2 separate regions of the Homo sapiens genome follow, and region 2 is linked to region 1. Evidence: promoter capture Hi-C in human tissues and cell types (Jung and others, 2019). All regions are on one chromosome and are shown on one strand. Each heading gives the region's core, a stretch centred on a gene start or on the middle of the fragment in contact. The rest is flanking DNA. Distances are from core to core; before and after follow the strand shown. Region 1 holds the start of KLC3 (kinesin light chain 3). Region 2 has its middle 9.2 kb from the start of NECTIN2.

Region 1 (2,980 bases), core at 333-2,832:
CTGGGATTACAGGTGTGAGCCACTGCGCCGTCCTCAAGTTATATTAGAATCGTGTCCTCCCAGCTTTGGCCAGCTTACTATTCTAGGACTTGATTCCTTCATTCAGTCACAATTTATTGAGCACCGACTTTGCATCAAGCTCTTGCTGAAGATAACAGTGCTGACAATATACAGCCCTGCCCTCAGAGCTTATATAGTAGAGGAGAAAAAGTGAACCCATAATATACAGTCAGTAGCGAGTATTTACTAAGTACTTTCTATTTGCGAGGCCCTGATAAAAGTACTGTCCTGGCCAGGCGCGGTGGCTCACGCCTGTAATTCCAGCACTTTGGGAGGTCGAGGTGGGCAGATCACCTAAGGTCAGGAGTTCGAGATCAGCCTGGCTAACATGGGGAAACCCCGTCTCTACTAAAAATGGAAAAATTAGCTGGGCATGGTGGCGGGCGCCTGTAATCCCAGCTACTCGGGAGGCTGAGACAGGAGAATGACTTGAACCCAGGAGTTGCAGTGAGCCAAGATAAGATAGCGCCATTGTACTCCAGCCTGGGTAACACAGCGAGACTGTGTCTCAAAAAAAAAAAAAAAAAAAAAAAAGTACTGTCCCTGTATTAGTTAACATTCAATTCTCAAAGCCTTAGACTATTTATATTTTATTGACTAGGGAAACTGAGGCACAGAGAGGTTAAGTTACTTGCCCAAGGCCTGCACAGCAAGTAAGTGCCGGAATCAAATTTGAACCCTGAGCCCAATTCTTAGATATCACATTCCCTTGCCAATAACATAATATATAACATAACATAATGATGTGATATATGTTATATAAAATAACTTTAGGGGCCGGGGGCGGTGGCTCACTCCTGTAATCCCAGAACTTTGGGAGGCCGAGGCGGGAGGATCACTTGAGGTCAGGAGTTTGAGACCAGCCTGGCCGACATGGCGAAACCCCGTCTCTACTAGAAATATAAAAAGTAGCCGGGCGTGGTGGCAGACACTTGTAGTCGCAGCTACTCGGGAGACTGAGATGGGAGAATCGCTTGAACTTGGGAGGTGGAGGTTGCAGTGAGCCGAGATCGCGCTACTGCACTCCAGCCTGGGTGACGGAGCGAGACTCCCTCTCAATAAATAAATAAGGTAATTTTAGGCCCTGAAAAGTTTTGTGAACAAAATCAAGAGGAGTATGTAATGTTTTGGTGGAAGGGTGCCATTTAGAAGGGGGCAATCAGGGAAGGCCTGCCGGAGGAGGTGGCCTTTGAGAAGAGACCTAAAGACGATGAGATCTGTGGGAAGAGAGATCGAAGCAGGCCACACAACCAAGGAAAAGGCTCTGGGGCAGGCACTGCAAGAAAGCCACCTGTCTGGGATCTAAAGTTTCCAAAGTTTTAGCTTGGCCAAGGCCCCTGCGCTACAATCACCCTGATTCGAGGTGTCCTGGAGGTTACCAGTTCCGCGTGCGAAGTTCTGCCATTCCCGCGGGGCTGGAGCCCCGAGGCTGAACTTCCCACGGGCGGTGGGCGTGGCCGGCTCACCTGCGGGGGCGTGGCTCCCGGCTGCCCCGCCCCTCGGAGGAGCCGCCCGAGGTCCCAGACGCCCGGCGCAGCGGGAGCGGCGGGGCGTGCCTGGCCTGCGGGACGCGACTGATCGCAGTGGGGCGAAGCGGGGCCGGAGCCGCCCGCGGTCAGGTGGGTGCCGGGAGTGGGGCGCGGGACTCTCGGAGAGCCGCGATGATGGGGGGCGGGGGCAACCCTGGGCCCGCTCGCCCTGAGACGGGGAAGGGCCTTGGGGCTCCCGGATGCCCCCTGCCCCGTCCTGGGGCTCTCCGGGATCTGGAGGCCTGGCTGGGGTCCCATGCCCCCCACCCCAGCGCAGGTAAACAGCGAGGACGGGGCGGGGCCTGGGAGGGAGAGGGAGGGGGCCCTTGTGACTGCGGGTGAGCCTGGTGCGCGGGGCTGGGCAGGCCAGGGTAAGTTGGTGCGGCTTGCGGGGCTGGGCCACGATGGGAGTCTCCTGCCTGCCTGTGTTTGTGTGTGTGTGTGTGTGTGTGTGTGTGGCTTTGCGTGTGTGTAAGAGAGTGTGTCAGGCTGTGGGTATGAGGGTGAAAGCGACTGTCCGTGTAACCCTGTGATGGGACTGTGTGTATGATGTGACACTTTTAGCAATGTGAAAACGTGGGCGACCTCTGACTGGAATGGTGTGTGTGTAGAATTGGATTGCTGGTAGCACTTTACGACCAAGAGCTAGTGCGACTGTAGTCGACTTTCTGCTTGGCCTGATGTGCATGTGTGTGGCTGTGTGTGTGGCTGTCTTCATGGCAGAGAGTGGAACTGGTTGTAGGATTAGGTGTGATTGACCAAGAGGCTGTGCGGCTGTGGTTGTCTTTCTGCCTGTTGGTGTGTGTGTGTGTGTGTGTGTGTGCGCGCGCGCGTGTGGTGGACAGTGTGGCACTGGATCAGTGATAGGTGACTATGATTGACTTTTGATTGTGTGTCACTGTGATGGTGCATGGGGCTGGGCGGAACTGTGTCCAGAAGTGGAGCTGTTTCATGGGACGGTGCGCGTGGAACCTTGGGGTTGGATGAGTGAGGTGTGGAGGTGTGTGAAGCCGTGTGTGCGTGTGTGTGTGTGTGTGTGTGTGTGTAGAGAGGAACTAGAGGGTGTGTGATCTGCATTGATACCGTGGCTGGCAGTGGTGTGCAACGGAGAGTTTGTGGGAGATGGGAGTGGAGACGTGGACATTTAAGTGGGATGCTCCTCCAAGCGGGTGACAGGATGGAAAAGGGGGTCCGCGTCAGGGATCAGTGTGTGGGACTGTGCCTATGATTATCAGCTGTGCGGTTGTGCACCCGGGGCTCTGTGTGAGTGTGGGAGCTGCTGTGTGTCTGGGACACAGCCCGAGTGCTGGATGGCTGTGGTTGAGCCGTGTTTGTTGCTGTGGTTGTCAATCTGGCTGTGGAGTGGTGTGTGTAAGGCTGTGTCTGAGGTT
Region 2 (3,392 bases), core at 277-2,776, 500 kb before region 1:
CCTTGAAGTTCTGTTTACCACCTCCAAGAGGCATAGCCTGCAGTCTCAGCAAAAGGATAGATTCCCAGGAAGAGTGCGAGAGAGGTTTGGGGCCCAGGTGGGCAGCCCACCCAGCTGACCCCACCAGGTGGGCATGATATCATGATATCAAATATGCTAAATTTGTGTCTGTGTACATCATGTTCTGGCCCCAGGGAAATGAGCACTTTGCTGGTGAGGTTGGTGACATTTTGTTTACCATCTATGCCTGAGGAGGAAAGACTGGAGGAAAGAAAGACCTAAGAGGCCAGTTTATATTCACAAACATGGAAGTCAAGCCTGTTCCACCTTTCCAATGCAATAGAGCACCTACTGGGAAAGCCATGCCTGGCCAGCCCCTGGCAAAACACACCTGAGGATTCATTCCTCCATTCACGCAATCATACCTTCAAGAAAAGTTCAGAGGGCGTGGTGGCTCGCGCCTGTAATCCCAACAGTTTGGGAAGCCAAGGCTGGCTGATCACCTGAGGTCAAGAGTTCGAGACCAGCCTGGCTAACATGGTGAAACCCCATCTCTACTAAAAATACAAAAATTAGCCTGGCATTGTGGTGCATGCCTGTAGTCACAGCTACTCGGGAGGCTGAGGCAGGAGAATCACTTGAAACTTGGAGGCGGAGGTTGCAGTGAGCTGAGATCGAGTCACTACACTCCAGCCTGGGTAACAGAGCGAGACTCCGTCTCAAAAAAATAAAAAGTGTATTGAGTGTTTACTGTGTGCCAGGCACTGGGGAGACATCAATGAACAAACTTCACAACCCACCAGGCACAGTGGCTCACGCCTGTAATCCCAGCACTTTGGGAGCTCAAGGCGGGAAAATCACTTGAGGTCAGGAATTCAAGACCAGCCTGGGCAACACAGCAAGATCCCATCTCTACAAAAAAATTTTTAAATTAGCCAAACATGGTGGCACACACCTGCAGTCCCCACTACTCAGAGTGGGAGGATCGCTCAAGTCCAGAAAGTCAAAGCTGCAGCGAGCTATGATGGCATTACTGTACTCCAGGCTGGGAGACAGAGCAAGATCCTGTCTCCAAGACATAATAATAATAATAATAATTCACATCCTAATGGTGTTGCTGGACTCCAGTGGGGAAAGTGGTCAGTGGAATTCCTTAGAAGGTCCACAGACCTAGGAAGAGACTTCAGGAACTGCAACCAATCCCTGACTCTCTAGGGCCTGAGGAGGCACTTGGATGGGAACACCCTCCACCTCCCAAGAGAAGCAGTTGACTCCTCCACGAGGAAGCACTGGACAGCCAGGAGGTGCCTCTTGTTAACCAAAGTGGGCTGTTGACCTTGAACTCCAGCTCAGAGATCTTGTCCCTGGTCTTGTTCTCAAGACTCATCAGGTTCTCTCTTTCTCTGGACATGGAATCTAGATCTTCAATTTTGAAGCCAAATCTATGGGAGTAAAACAAAGAGATTTGATTAAAACAAAAGATGTTGTGCAAAACTCAAAAAATAAAACAGGCTGGGCGCTGTGGCTCAGGCCTGTAATCCCAGCACTTTGGAAGGCCAAGGCAGGAGGATCACTTGAGCCCAGGAGTTCGAGACCAGCCCTGGCAACAAACAGAGACTCTGTCTCTACAAAAAATGCAAAAATTAGCCTGATGTGGCGGTACACGCCTGTAGTCCCAGCTACTCGGGAGGCTGAGGTAGGGGGATCCCTTGAGCCTGGGAGGCTGAGGCTGCAGTGAGCCGTGATCCAGCCACTGCATTCCAGCCAGGGCAACAGAGCGAGATCCTGTCTCAAAAAATAAAATAACAGTAGTCCCAGCACTTTGGGAGGTCGAGGCAAGCAGATCACTTGAGGTCAGGAGTTCTCAACCAGCCTGGCCAACATGGTGAAACCCCATCTCTACTAAAAATACAAAAATTAGCCAGGGGTAGGGGGGCACACCTGTAATGCTAGCTACTGGGGATGCTGAGGCATGAGAATCACTTGAACCCGGGAGGCGGAGTTTGCAGTGAGCCAAGATCACGCCACTGCACTCCAGCCTGGGCAACAGGGCGAGACTCCGTCTCAAAACAACAACAAAAATAAACATGAGAAGCTAGATGACTGTAGCTGGCTGATCACCTGCTTGGCAGCCACAGCTTTTACCTGTGTCTTGGGCTTGGGACTCATGGAGCAGAGTGGGTGTCGCCCACAGGACGCATGAATGCTTGGAGCTTACTGGATCCCTGCATCCCTCCCATCTGTGTTCAGCTCACATTCTTAGTATGTCTAACAGGTCTCATGAGTTGCTTTTTTTTTTTTTTTGAGACGGAGTCTTGCTCAGTTGCCCAGGCTGGAGTGCAGTGGCGCGATCTCAGCTCACTGCAACCTCCGCCTCCCGGGTTCAACTGATTCTCCTGCCTCAGCCTTCCGAGTAGCTGGGATTACCGGCGGGTGCCACCACGCCTGGCTAATTTTTTGTATTTTTAGTAGAGACAAGATTTCACCGTGTTCGCCAGGATGGTCTCGATCTCCTGACCTCATGATCCGCCTGCCTCAGCCTCCCAAAGTGCTGGGATTACAGGTGTGAGCCACCACGCCCGGCTTGAGTTGCTTCTTAATATCCATCCTTCATTTCACCTGTCTGTGTCCTTATTTATAGGGCTCTTGTTCCCTATATAACAGAATTGAAAATTCCCTTTAAAAAAATACAGCAAATGCACACAGAGGATCAGAGGATGGAGGGGAGAATTTGATGAGATAACCAGGGAAGTATTTAGTACAAAGCCTGGCACAGAGTCCATGTGCAGTACATGTTAATTATTGTGATTATCTAAGGAAAAATAAAGAGACACAGAGAAAAGCAAAAAGGTTGCCTTAGGCCAGGTGCGGTGGCTCACACCTGTAATCCCAGCACTTTGGGAGGCCGAGGCAGGCAGATCACCTGAAGTCATGAGTTCGAGACCAGCCTGGCCAACATGGTGAAACCTTGTCTCTACAAAAAAAAAAAGACAAAAATTAGCTGGGCATGGTGGCACGCGCCTGTAATCCCAGCTACTCAGGAGGCTGAGACACAAGGATCACTTGAACCCAGGAGGCGGAGGTGGCAGCGAGCCGAGATCACACCACTGCACTCCAGCCTGGGTGACAGGGCGACACTCTGTCTCAAAAAAAAAAAAATAAAGGCCAGGTGCGGTGGCTCACGCCTGTAATCCCAGAACTTTGGGAGGCCGAGGCAGGCAGATCACCTGAGGTGAGGGGTTCGAGACCAGCCTGGCAAACATGATTTAGTAGAAACCCCGTCTCTACTAAAAATACAAAAATTAGCTGGGCGTGGTGGCAGGCACCTGTAATCCCAGCTACTCGGGAGGCTCAGGCAGGAGAATCGCTTGAACCCGGGAGGCGGAGGTTGC

Evidence for each region. Contacts are between HindIII fragments. The study calls those that stand out against the background at their distance.
Region 2: a contact is called between a fragment that was not itself captured here and the fragment with the promoter of KLC3 in region 1, in 2 of the 25 tissues and cell types used here (IMR-90 fibroblasts and lymphoblastoid cells).

What each region holds. Positions count from the first base shown.
Region 1 is chr19:45,339,168-45,342,147 of GRCh38, forward strand. KLC3 (kinesin light chain 3) reads left to right here and starts at 1,583. Exons shown (of 13, transcript NM_177417.3): 1 at 1,583-1,679. RefSeq lists a silencer at 1,479-1,568. The HindIII fragment of the contact is 10,588 bases long and covers 1-2,980 here.
Region 2 is chr19:44,835,367-44,838,758 of GRCh38, forward strand. No RefSeq gene overlaps it. Among named protein-coding and RNA genes, the nearest start is that of NECTIN2, 9.2 kb to the right of the region's middle. The HindIII fragment of the contact is 6,876 bases long and covers 1-3,392 here.